Linked DNA regions of Homo sapiens: region 2 is linked to region 1. The links are contacts of gene promoters, found by promoter capture Hi-C in blood cells and fetal thymus (Javierre and others, 2016). All regions are on one chromosome and are shown on one strand. Each heading gives the region's core, a stretch centred on a gene start or on the middle of the fragment in contact. The rest is flanking DNA. Distances are from core to core; before and after follow the strand shown. Region 1 holds the start of CHMP4A (charged multivesicular body protein 4A). Region 2 holds the start of ACIN1 (apoptotic chromatin condensation inducer 1).

Region 1 (7,131 bases), core at 2,265-4,764:
GCAGTAAGGTCTCAGCAACTCCAACCATCCCCTGCTATGACATTCAGAGCCTGCTGAATTCTGTCTCCCCAGCAAAAAACCTAAAGGTATGGTCCTTCTGCTTGCTAGGCTGCTGTTCAATCCCACAGCACCTTTGTGCAAATTAGAAAAATGGTGCCTCTTGCTCCTGCCATTTGCAGCCCTAAACCAGGGTACACGGCTTGTTGAGTGAAGCACAGGCTAGGTGGGTGCCTATATGCAGTCAACAACCTGCACAACTGCAGCAGCAGCCCTTTCTGTGTGGCTCCTTTGAGGCAGGATGGATGAGGAATAATCTTTCCCCATATCTCTCCCACCCTCTTAAGTCCTCAAGACAACAGAACAACCCTGCATACCTGGCCCTGCCGGCAGATGAGTAGAAGGTACACTAGGCAATTTGACTGAGGGTTCTTCTTCCTTGTCGCCCACATTTAACAACTCCTGGGCCAATTCCTCCTGCTCCAGCTCCTCTAGCTCCTCCAGCAGTTCATCCTGGATAGGGAAGACAAGACCACTTTAGATGAAGAAAAAAACTTCTACCTCCAAAAACATACCACTTTTGAAGTTCCCTCCCAAACTTGTCCCAAGAGCCTCTCTTGGGTGTTCCTTCTGGCCAGTCCCATACTTTCTGCAATATTCCCTGACCCTTCACCCCCAATCACCTCATCCACATCATCTCCAAAGCCCATAGGCCGAGAAATGGCATCTGAGATCTGCTGGGCCACCTCCTGTTGTTCCGTGATGTCAGTCATCAGTTCATCTACCTTGTCAATGTCCCTGAGAATGAGATAGATAGCTAAGAAATCACGCAACAATGCCCCCTTGACTTTCTCATCTCACATGAATGAAACCCCTCCTGCCTTGCAGGGTCACACTGATAAGCCCATAACTATCAATCAGAAGAGATCCCTGGAAAATTGCAAAGATGCAAGTTGTGATCCCAGCACTTTGGGAGGCCAAGGCAGGTGGATCACCTGAGGTCAGGAGTTCAAGACCAGCCTGGCCAAAATGGCAAAACTCCATCTCTACTAAAAATACAAAAATGAGCTGGGCACAGTAGTGCACACCTGTAATCCCAGCTACTCAGGAGGCTGAGGCAGGAGAATCACTTGAACCCAGGAGGCGGAGGTTGCAGTGAGCCGAGATTGTGCCACTGCACTCCAGCCTGGGCGACAGAGCAAGACTCCATCTCAAAAAACAAAACAAAACAAAACAAAAAAAGAATTAGAGAAGGCATCTTTCCTCCCTAGAATGCCCCAGGCAGCGAAAGAATTTTATAGGAAGCAAGGGGCAGATGGATGTCTAGCCATCACAAGTATCTATACTGCAAATTCACATTCTGAGAGGCTTTAAAGTTTAAAGTGTGATAGCAAGCCACTCTTCCCAGTGCCTGGGTCCCCTCCACCCCTCCCCCCGTACCCACATGTCCTGGTAGGCCTTCTTCATGCTTTGGGCAGCAAGCTCCATGGTACGAAGGACTTCTGCATTGGTAGTGGCATTCTCAATGGCCTCACGCTGAAACTCCAGGGTGGATAATGTCCCGTCAGTTTGTGCCAGCTGCTGTTCGAATCTTTTCTTCCTCCGCAAAGCCTGTAGGGCAGCTGACCCAGCCCATACCCTGAACATCAAGAGTCAGAAGCACCTGCTTCCCATCTGGGCCCTCCCCATAGGCTTGTTTCCCTCATTACCTCTCTTATTCTTGGTCCCATACTTCTTGGCTGTTTGTAGCTCCTGTTGAATCTTCTGCTCCAAAAATTCCTGTTTCTTGATCAGTATCTTCTCTGTCTCCTTCAGTTTCTGTATTGCTTCTTCAGGGGTTGGCCCTTTCTCCTTCTTCCCTGAGGAGTCCAGTGGAGTAGGCCCAAATTTTGTGAAGGAAAAATATTAGCCACCAATCATTGAATACATAGTATGTGCTAGAGACCTGACTGTGTTATTGCTAATCCCCAAATCTCTACAATGAACGTGCTATCTCTTCACTTTAAAAATGTGAAAACAACCACAAAGATGTTAAAAATCACAACTAATAAGAGATTGTGCAGGAATCAAGATGTGGCAGTATGAGTTCTAAAACCAATATTCTTTTTACTATTCCTAGCTGCCTTTCTTTTTTTTTCTTTAGGCAGAGTTTCAGTCTTGTTGCCCAGGCTGGAACGCAATGGCGTGATCTCAGCTCACCTCAACCTCCGCCTCCTGGGTTCAAGCAATTCTCCTGCCTCAGCCTCCCAAATAGCTGGGATCACAGGCATGTGCCACCATGCCTGGCTAATTTTTTGTGTTTTTAGTACAGACAGGCTTTCTCCATGTTGGTCAGGCTGGTGTCGAACTCCCAACCTCAGGTGATCTGCCCGCCTCGGCCTCCCAAAGTGTTTTGATTACAGGCATGAGCCACCGCGCCAGGACTTCTTTTTTTGAGACAGAGTCTCGCTCTGTTGCCCAGGCCAGAGTGCAGTGGCATGATCTCAGCTCATTGCAACCTCCGTCTCCCGGGTTCAAGTGATTCTCCTGCCTCAGCCTCCCTGAGTAGCTGGGACTACAGGCACACACCATCATGCCCACCTAATTTTTTTTTTTTTTTTTGAGAATGGAGTCTCCCTCTGTCACCAAGGCTGGAGTGCATTGGTGCAATCTTGGCTCACTACAACCTCCGCCTCCTGGGTTCAAGCGATTCACCTGTCTCAGCCTCCCCCAGTAGCTGGGACTACAGGCGCGTGCCACCACAACCAGCTAATTTTTTTTTTTTTTTTGTATTTTTAGTAGAGACAAGGTTTCACCATGTTGTCCAGGCTGGTCTCGAACTCTTGACCTCAGGTGATCCACCCACCTCGGCCTCCCAAAGTGCTGGGATTACAGGCGTGAGCCACCGCGCCCGGCCAATTTTTATATTTTTAGTAGAGACGGGGTTTCACCATATTGGCCAGGCTGATCTCAAACTCCTGACCTCATGATCCACCCACGTCGGCCTCCCAAAGTGTTGCGAGTACAGGCGTGAGCCCCCGCGCCGGGCTAAGAAGGCAGTCTTTCTTCTTCACCTTAGATCCCTCTTGCCCAGCACAAAGTATTATAGAACAAGGTTTTGAAAATGGCTGAAGACAGCAGGAAACTCGTCTTCAAGCCTGAACAGTGGGAGTCAGCACGATCGCCACGCCCTCAACTCAAGTCCCCTCCCAGATCTTGAGTTCTTCCCTCTGAGAGTGGGGGAGGACGGCGGACGGGAACAAGGCGCCCCGACATGGTGTGCCTTTTGGCACCGGCGATGAGCCTTGCTCCGCCATCGGCCGCCGGGGTTTTCCAGTCAGCCTGTCTCCTGATTCTCTTCCCCTGCCCGGCGCAGCGGTCCGGCCGAATCTCGCCGGGGTCTCCTCTTCCCCTGCACCAGCCAGCGCCTCCTGGCTGGCCAGTCCCACCCTGGCTCACCCTTCCCGAAGAGCCTGCCGAGACCACTCATCGCGAGCTCGCCTCTCCCGCCTCCGCCCCTCAGCGTCCTCCAGACTTCCGCCTTGCTCCTGGGAGGGTGATGTCTCATCACACAGGGACCAGCCTTGCCCAATCCGTCCTCAGGGCGCCGCCGCGACATCAAGAGGCGCAAACGAGACCACCGGTGTCACGTGACCCAAGCCACCAGCCCCAGACCGACGCGCTCCTCTTAAAGCTGCCACATCATTTTCTATTAAGTAAAAAGACAGTTCTATCTCCACCTGAGTACGTGCTTGTTCTCCGGAAGGAAATGTGCAGTGTGATGGCACCTCAGTGTATGGGGTCAGTGGGAAAACTTCATGCTCTTTACAGAGCTCAGGAAAGTGGGGTGGTATAGGTTCAAGCACTTGGGGTTGCCCTAAGTTTAGATGGCAAACCTGATGCAGTCTAATGTCTCACATTCTGGTCTCTGCACCTCAGGACAACCAACCCCATTTCACAGGCTAGAAAAATAGAAACTCCCCACACTGTGGGTAAAATCTCTTCTGTCACACACAGATGAACTTTAATAAATTACAAATGCACCTGAAAATGCCTTCTTGATTTCCTTTCAGTTTAGGCCTCAAATGGGCTCTCCTCAAGGCTGGACCTCAAAGGCCCAGTTTGGGCCTTCGCAAATGTCTCTAACCCTTGACTTAGAGTTTGAAGATTCATTCCATTCTGGATGTGAATGCAGGTAACACCTAGAAAGATAAGAAGTCACATTTCATTAAGCTTTCAGGGTTCTCCATTATTACTCTGACCTTTGTGAGTGCCACCTATAGGGCAAACTATCCAACCTGTATGTATCTACCTAATCCCTCCTAGGGACCCCAAATGGCTGTTCCTCATCACTCAGTACCCAGTTTGCTGACGTCTACAATATTCCGCCTCTCATCATCAAAGAAGATCATCTGGGAGAAAGGAATTCCAGTCTTCTGCTGCAACCTATTCAAGACAGGGCAGGAGTAACCAAGCTAGTATCTTGGTTTCCCAGGCCTCTCTGATACTTTCTCACCCTGCTCCTCCCTTATCTCCGCATACCTCTCAAAGTGTGTGATCTTGCTGCCTGGATAGATTTCCCGATGAACAAAGTACCTGAAGAGGTCAAAGAGCTCCAGTAGCTGGTTGGCCCCTTCTATCTCACTTGTCCTGCAAAACGGTGTAAAAGATGGGATTAGCAAAGTGAAGGGCCAGGGCTACGTTAACTTATTAAGCAAAGTTAGTAAGTATAACCAGGGAAATCAACTTGCTGTTTTTCCGGGATGGACAGGCATCCTCAGCCTCTGTTTAACTCCATTGCCTTCCTATTTGACACAATTGGTGCTGGGCCAATGTTTTAGCTTTTGTTTTGAGACAGGGTCTAGCTCTGTTGCCCAGACTGGAGTGCAGCGACCCAATCACGGCTCACTGTGGTCACGACCTCCTGGGCTCAAGTGATCCTCCCACCTCAGCCTCCCAAGTAGCTGGGACTACAGGTGCACGCCACTACAATTTTTTTTTTTTTTTTGGTAGAGATAGGGTCTCCCTCTATTGCCTAGGCTGGTCTCAAATTCCTGGGCTCAAGTGATCCTCCCACCTAGGCCTCCCAAAATGCTAAGATTACAGGTGTGAGTCACTGTGTCTGGCCCCACTTTTTTTTTTTTTTTTTTTTTTGAGACATTGTCTCACTCTGTCACCCAGGCTGAAGTGCAGTGGCTCCATCTCAGCTCACTGCAACCTCCGCCTCCCGGGTTCAAGCGATTCTCCTGCCTCAGCCTCCCGAGTAGCTAGGATTACAGGTGCGTGCCACCACGCCCTGCTAATTTTTGTATTTTTAGTAGAGACGGGGTTTCACCATGTTGATCAGGCTGGTCTTGAACTCCCGATCTCGTGATCCACCCGCCTCGGCCTCCCAAAGTGCTGGGATTACAGACGTGAGCCACCGCGCCCGCCTGCTGGCCCCACTTTTTAATAGTTAAAAGGCACAGGAGAGCGTTCAAGGGAAAAAATATGTAAATACTTGGAAACTTGCACCGCCCCTATTTTTGTAGACCAGGGGTTTCACTGTCTCTTGCATGCACCCTTCAGCATTACACTGTCAGTTGTCAGTCGCTCTTCTTACCTTGAAGCAGCCGCACCGGGCACCCCAAGGCTCTGCAATCGTTTTAGGACCTCAGGCACCTCTGGGTACAGTCGGACGTCTTGGCCCCGCCTATCTCGTACAGTTCCATCACTGGAGAGGGCAAGAGTGCGCTCAGCCCTGGCTGGGTCCTATCTCGCCCCCAGTCTTCCCTGTCCCTACCTCACCTGCTCTTATGGAACGGAGGGTCTACGTGCGTGTCGACCCAGAAAGGCCAGAGAGTGTAATCTGCGAGAGGAAGGAGAGGGAAGGTTCAGCCTGGGGCGGGAGATGCAGGGATTCGGGAGCTGCTGTTAGGGATGTGGAAAAGGAGAGCACCTTACGAAATTCTCCCCTTCCCGTCCCTCACCCAAATCAAAGACTGCCAGCTTCGGTAGCCGCGCCATGACCCGCACCGCAGGCTGCGCGCAGCAGAGGTGGGGCTTCACCCGGGGCCTTAGAGAGTGCGGAACCTCCGGCAGCTAAGGCAGCCACCCTGCCTGCCATAGACAAATGGCGACTAGAGCGTCGCCACTCGGGGCGTCATCAGCCTGGAGATGGCGCAAGAGTGCCATCTGATGCTGGGCGGGGAAGAGGATTGCAGCGAGGTACCAACACGACCACACATGCAACCACAGCAGTCAAGTCTTTCTAAGGCATTGGCCACGGGCATCCTCCCTACTTCTCCACTCCACCCAGCCTTGCCCGATTCTATTATACTAAGAAGCCAGGGAAGAAGGAAAGCCTTTTCTTCTAGCACCTGCCTCTTCTTGAGACCCAAGTGATACATCACAGCTTGTCACTCAATCTTTCTGCATTATCAACCTCCTGACAGTGTAGAACCCAAAGTCCTCAGTAATATTCCAGCCATAGAGTACAGTGTCAGCCAAACCCTTGAAGGCGTTCTCCAACCAGGCCTAAATGTCCAGTACAGCCACAGTCAAGAGAGAATTCACTCTCCGAAGGTTTCACCATCCATGTCAGCACTACACTGGTAGATGTATAACAACCAGTTTGTGGGGAGGAACTGATCTGTAGTGTTTGCTAGTTTCTGTAAATAATCCTACCATGGCCAATTTCAAGCTACCAACATGAAGTCACTTAATAGAGTTGGAAAAAGGTGCCAATAATTGGCTCTCATTAGCCACTAGGAACTGGTTCCAACACACCACTAAGTAGGTTTTCCTAGAGTCTGATAATCCCCGTAAGAGCACCATTCCTTCCACTGTCCGATTCCTTCAGCCTGCTATAACTGAGTGAGCATTAGGTCCATTTTTATTTCAGTCAACTTGTGCAACAGAAGAAAGATTCCAGGAGGCCAGGAAATATTTTATTGACAACCAGGGACACAGTCATAAGAGAGGGAAGCACACAGGACTGCAAACTAACACCCAGTAGCCAGCAAGGGCCCTCTGGGCCAGGAATACTGAATCCTGGGATCCTCACAGTCTCCCACCAGTAGACATACATTACTGGGCATCCAGGGGAGGGGGCAGTGGCTATGGTGTCCCAGAGAGTGAGAGGATATATGATGCCTCATTATGAGCGACAGGGTA
Region 2 (7,131 bases), core at 1,654-4,153, 1.1 Mb before region 1:
ATTTTCTTACTAAAAGATTTCTAGAAATGTCTTTCTGGGTCTAAGACTAGGATCAAGAAAAACAGGGACTGAGTAAAACAGGACCTTAAAACTAGACTCAAAGGCTCTCTATTTTCTCTAGCCTTTTGGAAAATTTCTTTCCCACCATTAAATGTCTCCTAAAAAATCTATTTCCATGAAGAGTCTATCGCTGCTCAGCCTTTTAACTAAAATCAAGTGTAGTCCATGAAGGAATTCTGTATTAATCAGAAGAGCTGGAAACCTCCATACATCCTAAAAACACTGATTATGGTGGATTCCGCATCCCCCTCAACACTAATTATTCAAAATACTTGTTAAGTTACACATTGGTTTAACATATGTACTAACAATCCACATGTCTTATATACATATTAAGTATCCCTTTTCCAAAATGCTTGGGATCACAAGTGTTTTAGATTTTGGATTTTTGAATATTTGCATTATACTTTCTGATTCAGCATCCCTAATCTGAAAACCCAAAATCTGAAATGCTCTGATGAGCATTTCCTTTGAGTGTCATGTGAATACTCAAAAAGTTTTGGGTCTTTGGATTAGGCATGCTCAACCTGCACATATTTTCCTCAAAGTATACTGACTTAGACAGGTAGTTCCCAAAAGACAAAGGCTATATTTATAGACTTTTGCTTGAGATATTATGCAAAATTGGGTGCCTATTATGATTTTATGTATTTTTTGAGACACAGTCTCGCTCTATTGTCCAGGCTGAAGTGCAATGGTGCAATCTTGGCTCACTGCAACCTCTGCCTCCCGGGTTCAAGCGATTCTCCTGCCTTAGCCTCCCGAGTCACTGGGATTACAGGTGCCTGCCACCATACCCAGCTAATTTTTATATTTTTAGTAGAGACAGGGTTTTGCCATGGCTTTTTCACGGTTTTTCCAGGCTGGTCTGGAACTCCTGACCTCAGGTGATCCTCCTGCCTCAGCCTCCCAAAGTGCTGGGATTAGAGGCGTGAGCGACCACACCCAGTCTGGGTGCTTAATATTTTCTATAATGTGAAGAAATTAATTAATCTTGCCTGAACCAATCCCATATACTAGGTTAGAGCTCCCTACTATAATATGCTCACATAATACTCTGCGTTGCCTTGCACAGTAGCCAAAACAACTGTAACTAATGTCCATGTCCTCACTAGACTAAGTTTCTTGGGGCTGAGACTTGTTTCTTTCTTTACTATATTCCTCGTGCCTAGCATGTGCCTGGTATACAACAAGTACACAATAAAAATTTGTTGATTAAACCACAGCAGATACCCAACTCCAGAGGGTGACTGAATGTGTTAACACGTAATATACACAACTGGTGAAGAGATGAAAAAGAGCTGACTGTTGCCAAATTCAGAGGTAGAAGAGTTGAAGAGGTACAGATGAGAAGAAAAATCACACTGCTTCGTAAAACACTGAGAAGGTAACACAATATATAGGTGAAAGCAGACTTCAAAAAGGGTATACTTTCCATGAGAAACAGATGTCAAATATCAATGTCACAGAATTTCCCTGGGACTTTCATGGAGGCTTAGCATGAAAGGAGGTGTAACTACCTCCCCCCACCAACTACGCAGGATTGACAAAACAGCGCAGTGGGGAGGGAGATACGTACTGGGCGAATGTCTGCTGAGCTCCAGCTCTGGTCTCTCCAGGCTGCTCTGAAAGTCAGGAGGCAGCAGGGAAGCCACTCCCTCAGGATGGATCATCTCGTCCTCCGACTCAGCTGAAGCTTCTGCAAAGTACAGATCGGGTCGGGGCAGGGAGGGAGTGAAGGACTCAGCATGTAGGAATATGTAGAGGAGTGAAGGAGGTCAGGCAAAGTCACAGATACAGAGATACATACCAAAAAGAGCACCGTATAAAAAGAAAAAACTCCCTGGGATTCAGCTCTACTTCATCTAAATGGTAGCTTAATTTACTTATAACTCTTCCTGTTGGCAGGAATCCTCTTCTAACAAGACAGTCAAATTAAGTGTCCTCTTCCCTGACAAAAGTAAATAGTAAACCACTTGGCTTCATGGGCTATGAAAGCAAGTAAGTAGCAGTCTCAGCCTCACTTATTTCTGAAATTGTCTAGTTAGACAGGCCTATCTACTTGGTGACAGGGATAAGAATGACGAACTCCTTGTTAAAAGTGACAATCTGGGCTTACCTTCAAGTTCTGCAGCTTCTCGAGCTTCACGTTCCAGACGCTGCCTAAGTAGCTCCTGCTGCTTTTCCAGATACTGTTTTATGAAACTGTTCTGGCTCATTTCCTCACCAATCTGTGTAGAGGAAATGAAAACAGAGGGTCTAGGAAAACAAACCAGGAGAATGCAAAGAAGAACATTCCATGGAGCAAAGGTCCACTCCTTATAGTTGCGCCCAAGAAAGATAACTAAAATGTTGGAAGGCTTTTTTCTAAGTTAGTTCTATATTGAAGAACAGAATAGCCTTGAGTCACACACAAAAAAAGGGCAAAAAGAAGAGCTGCACATAAGTTTTTGATTTAAATATTCAGTTCCCAAAGAGTGATACTGGTATACAAATTACTATTCTTTATTTTTATTTTTTGAGACAGAGTTTCACTCTGTTGCCCAGGCTGGAGTGCAGTGGCGTGATCTTCCCTCACTGCAACCTCTGCCTCCTGGCTTCAAATGATTCTCCTGCCTCAGCCTCCTGAGTAGCTGGGATTACAGGTGTGCACCACCACACTCGGCTGATTTTTGTATTTTTAGTAGAGACGGGGTTTCACTATGTTGGTCAGACGGGTCTCAAACTCCTGACCTCAAGTGATCCACCCGCCTCAGCCTCCCAAAGTGCTGGGATTACAAGTGTGAGCCACCGTGCCCAGCCACAAATAACCTTAAATTAAAATTCCTGTAATTATATCTTTTAGGCTAAATTCCTAGATTACGTGGAACATTATCTAAAGGGTAATCTAAAATTTCCTTTTGGTAGTATCAAGACTGAAACATGGGGGCTCACGTCTGTAATCCCAGTACTTTGGGAGGCTGAAGTGGGAAGACTGCTTGAGCTCAGGAGTTCAAGATCAGTCTCAGCAACATGGCAAAACCCGTCTCTACCAAAAATACAAAAAGGTGGGCATATTGTGGTGTGAGTCTGTCATCCTGGCTACTCAGGAGGTGGTGGGTGCAGTGAACTGAGATCGTGCCACTGCACTCCAGCCTGGGTTAAAGAGCAAGACTCCATCTCAAGAAAAAAAAAAAAAAAAGCCAGTTCCTCCAAAAGATCAACCGTTACCTATCCAGGAAACATTTTTTTTTTTTTTTTTGAGACGGACTATCACTGTCATCCAGGCTGGAGAGCAATGGCGCGATCTTGGCTTGCTGCAACCTCCGCCTCCTGGGTTCAAGACATTCTCCTGCCTCAGTCTCCTGAGTAGCTGGGATTACAGACATGTGCCACCACAACCAGCTCATTTTTGCATTTTTAGTATAGACGGGGTTTTGCCATGTTGGCCAGGCTGGTCTCAAACTCCTGACCTCAGGTGATCTACCCGCCTTGGCCTCCCAAAGTGCTAGCATTACAGGCGTGAGCCACAATGCCCGGCCTCATATCCAGGAAACATTTTATCAAACAACTCCAAAATTCAAGTATAGTATTTAAAAGTATGAAATCAAGAGACTAAGAAAAGGGATATCCATTCAGCATTTAGACAAAGTTATAACTCCATTTTGTCTGGGTGAAAGGAAATCCTTGGTAACAGGAGCTTATGCCTTTTCCTATTTTTTTTTTTTTGTAATACAGATTCCCAAGTTGCCCTTCTGACCTCCAGCTTTCTCTTCACAAGTTCTCCTCCCTAGAACCTTCTTGCTTAGCAAGTCCTATTTAGAACTGAAAAAGCAAAAAAACCTGAATACTTTCTATGTTATTAGTCATGTTTCCTAAACATAGTAAAGGTTTATTTTCACCTAAAGTAGAAATGAGTCTCTTGGCACTCAATGGACATTGTTGAAGGGTGGGTTGCATGTGTATTACAGAATAGGCATGTTTGCTGCACAAACCCGGTGTTAATAAAAGCAAAGCTTCAAAGACTAACATGCAATGGGCAAAAGGAATACAATTAAGCTGATTAACTTATGCAGTTTCTTATGCTTGTTAAAGTACTTAATTGAACCTCTGAATGCTGGCTAGATTATGATACTTACAGCTTAATGAGGTGATAACAAAGGAGGAGGAGGGCTCTCTTGTTTTCCACAGTATCCTGAGACTTCATCTAGTACTGAGGCTGCACACTATTGCTTTAACAAAGACTTGGATTTTTCCTTTAAGTATATGACACATTATAATGAGGGGATTTTTAAAAGCTGAAAGAAACTTTAAGAGACTGTGCAGCCTAATAATTTTTGGATTTTAACTGTGGAATAATTTAAAAATTTTATGCAGAAACTCAATAGTTAAAAAGTAGATCTAATCTAGTTTAAGAGAGGAGTATGAGCCTTGCTTACTTGGGAAAAAGGTATTTCCCCTAGGAAGCTCCCCAAAGCAGCTCCACAAAACCCTAAGAGAACAGTTATAAACCCATGGGTTTAGTCTGTTTCTCATATTACAGATAAGGAAATGGAGAAGACCAAGGCCTCCAAAGGTTGTTTCTTATCCTAAGTAAAGAGGTATTAGTAATGTTTATGAGTAAGTGCACTGAGTTAGTAGTTAACACTAGTAATGGTGGGTGACTTACACAGGATTGAACCCTTGGAAAATCTACATCAACAAGAGTTCTTAATCAGCAACTATTTCCCTACACTGCCATATTGGTGATCTACTTCATATCTATACTCAAAGACATCAACTACCTTTCCTAAATTCATGGCAGATAAATGACTTCAGATCTCTGTACTACACGTAATTAATGGAAGCCACACCTTTCTACACATGCCATTTCAATTATTATAAACTAACAGTGCCTCTGATTCTGTTCTTTACTCCAGGCCCTTGTATACAACTGGGTTGATTAGAATTCAACTGTCCTGGTTTGAGAACATTTCTGACTAAGAGAACTTAGGAAAACAGTCATGAGGACTTAAGCATCAAATATACAACACCACGTCCTTCCATGTGTCTGGATATCCAAAGGGCCCACTCCATTGAATACACCTTCTTTCTCACCTGGGAATTTGGCTGGAATGCAGCATGGGGTGTTGAGTGTTTCTGTAAATTTTCTAGCATTAGAGCCTGGTATAGAGAAGGGTAAAAGTCAGAAATGATGAGGAAAAAAAAGAAAAACAAACCCCCACCTCTACCACAACCTCTAAATTAAACGCAATGACTTAAATACACACAATTAAACTGTATTCCTTTTCCAGGGACCTGAAAACCCTTTACTAACACTGTTCTCATTCATCTTCAGAAGACCCATAAAGGTAGCCATGGTTACTGTTACTAAATGTACAGATATAAAATGCAGGCACACAGAATCAGTGACCTGGCTATGTCATAATATCAGTAATAGAACCAGTACTAAAATCCCTATTATCTTCTGCACTTTCGCCAAGTGCCCCTTCTAAATCTGATCATGCATGTAAAATTACTTAAAATACTCAAACCAGCCATGGGGCTCCTGGTTTTTGCCTGACGGAATTACTTGGTCAAAGGGTTACCCAGTACCAGGGTCAATTTGTATAATTTCCAGTACTGTGGCACCTAGATTTATCAAATTTATAAAATTTTCAAAGAGGAAGCTACAGAAGAAAATGACCACAGACCCTGTAAACTGTGGTCTAACCTAGTCTATCCACACAAACACACACACACAAACACACACACACAAAACTATCAGCTTCTGTATAAGCAACGGTCTGCCAACTCAACCCTGGAGCCAACCCAGACCTAATCTGCACTACCTGCCACGTATCCTGTTGAACTCTAATTAAAACCAAGACATCCTCATCTTCCCTTCTTTAAACCAAACCTATACACTTGAATCGAGCTACACCTACCTCATGACAATCCCACCTTAATCTACTCAAACCGATTCAAAATCCCCAATATATATCAACCTGCCTCGCCTCTCTCACCAATATTCACCAAACTCTTAACCACCCAAATTGCCACTAGATGCCACTAAATTAGAGACCTCTCTCTCATCAAGTCCCTTCAAATAAAGGTCTCTCTTCATCTCACCTCCTCATCTAATCGAGCAGACATTTTACCCTACCCCAGTCCTATTCGTGCAGATACCGATACCAACCCCATCCACCCCTTCGCGCAACTATACCCCTAACTCCGACCCAGCCCAACTCGCCCCCCTCAGGCCAGCAACGCCGTAGGTTGTAGTGGGATTTAACTCCTTCTGCAGCGCATGCGCCGAAACCACAGATACAAACAAGGAGGGGGTGGGGGAAGGAGGAAGGAGCTTAAGACACTCCTGGAGAGTAGTGCACACCCTCCCATTTGGGCTCGCGCTGCTGCCGTTAAGGCGGGAACCGGCGCGATCTCCATTCCAGCGCGAACCTCATCAACCACCGTGCGCGCGGATCCAGAGGCTCGCGCTGGCGGCCTGAGCGAGCTCGCGCCGAGCCCGGATACTGCGCCTGCGCCGCGGCAGAGGCTCGTCTCTACCGGGTCCGCTCTCCTCCGACACCCCAGCAACGCCGACTCCTCACCCCTTTGAGCCGCTTGACCAGGGCACTCTTCTGCCCGCTCTTGGCTAGGCCTCGCTGCTCCAGTGCGGCCTTCAGGTCGGTCACCCGCAGCGCCTGAAGAGGCTTCCCGTCCAGAGTCACCTCCTCCAGCTCCGCCATCTTGCGTGAGGTACTCGGGTCCGTCCCGACGGCTTCGGGCATCTTCGGTAATTTCCGCCAACGCCCTTCGAACGTACCGAGATGACCCCGCCCACTGCCATACTCTACCCCTCGATTACCACTCAGAACTCCCCGGGTTCCTCCGGATGTCCTCGGATGTTTCCGTCTCCACATCGTTACCAATCAATTCTTTCCATCCGCCCTGCAGCGCCCCTTTTCTCGCCCTGCTTTCAGGCTCGGTTTTCTTCGTCTTGCCGAAGCTTTGAATCGAATATATTCGGAAACCCTCGACCCTGGTATAACCATAATCGGAGATGTTCGTTTATTTCCGGACCTAGAGATGAGGCGCTGGGGCGCTTGG

What was found. Contacts are between HindIII fragments. The CHiCAGO score rates a contact against its expected background, and 5 or more counts as called.
Region 2: a contact is called between a fragment that was not itself captured here and the fragment with the promoter of CHMP4A in region 1, in 1 of 17 cell types (non-activated CD4 T cells). The highest score is 5.0, in non-activated CD4 T cells.

What each region holds. Positions count from the first base shown.
Region 1 is chr14:24,209,974-24,217,104 of GRCh38, forward strand. It overlaps CHMP4A (charged multivesicular body protein 4A), which reads right to left and starts at 3,515. Exons shown (of 6, transcript NM_014169.5): 1 at 3,436-3,515; 2 at 1,707-1,856; 3 at 1,442-1,619; 4 at 681-795; 5 at 375-510. The coding sequence starts at 3,466. NEDD8-MDP1 (NEDD8-MDP1 readthrough) reads right to left here. Exons shown (of 7, transcript NM_001199823.3): 4 at 5,579-5,689; 5 at 4,519-4,626; 6 at 4,337-4,422; 7 at 3,970-4,178. The coding sequence ends at 4,051. It overlaps MDP1 (magnesium dependent phosphatase 1), which reads right to left and starts at 6,093. Exons shown (of 6, transcript NM_138476.4): 1 at 5,946-6,093; 2 at 5,764-5,824; 3 at 5,579-5,689; 4 at 4,519-4,626; 5 at 4,337-4,422; 6 at 3,970-4,178. The coding sequence starts at 5,982. The coding sequence ends at 4,051. It overlaps NEDD8 (NEDD8 ubiquitin like modifier), which reads right to left. Exons shown (of 4, transcript NM_006156.3): 4 at 6,884-7,131. RefSeq lists enhancers at 2,924-3,043, 2,998-3,806, 3,234-3,733, 3,370-3,664, 4,819-5,557 and 1 more. The HindIII fragment of the contact is 5,751 bases long and covers 1-4,207 here.
Region 2 is chr14:23,088,343-23,095,473 of GRCh38, forward strand. ACIN1 (apoptotic chromatin condensation inducer 1) reads right to left here and starts at 6,794. Exons shown (of 19, transcript NM_001386863.1): 1 at 6,633-6,794; 2 at 5,137-5,202; 3 at 2,180-2,291; 4 at 1,640-1,759. The coding sequence starts at 6,770. RefSeq lists enhancers at 6,535-6,844, 6,550-7,073, 6,885-6,964, 6,985-7,131, 7,074-7,131. The HindIII fragment of the contact is 2,299 bases long and covers 1,755-4,053 here.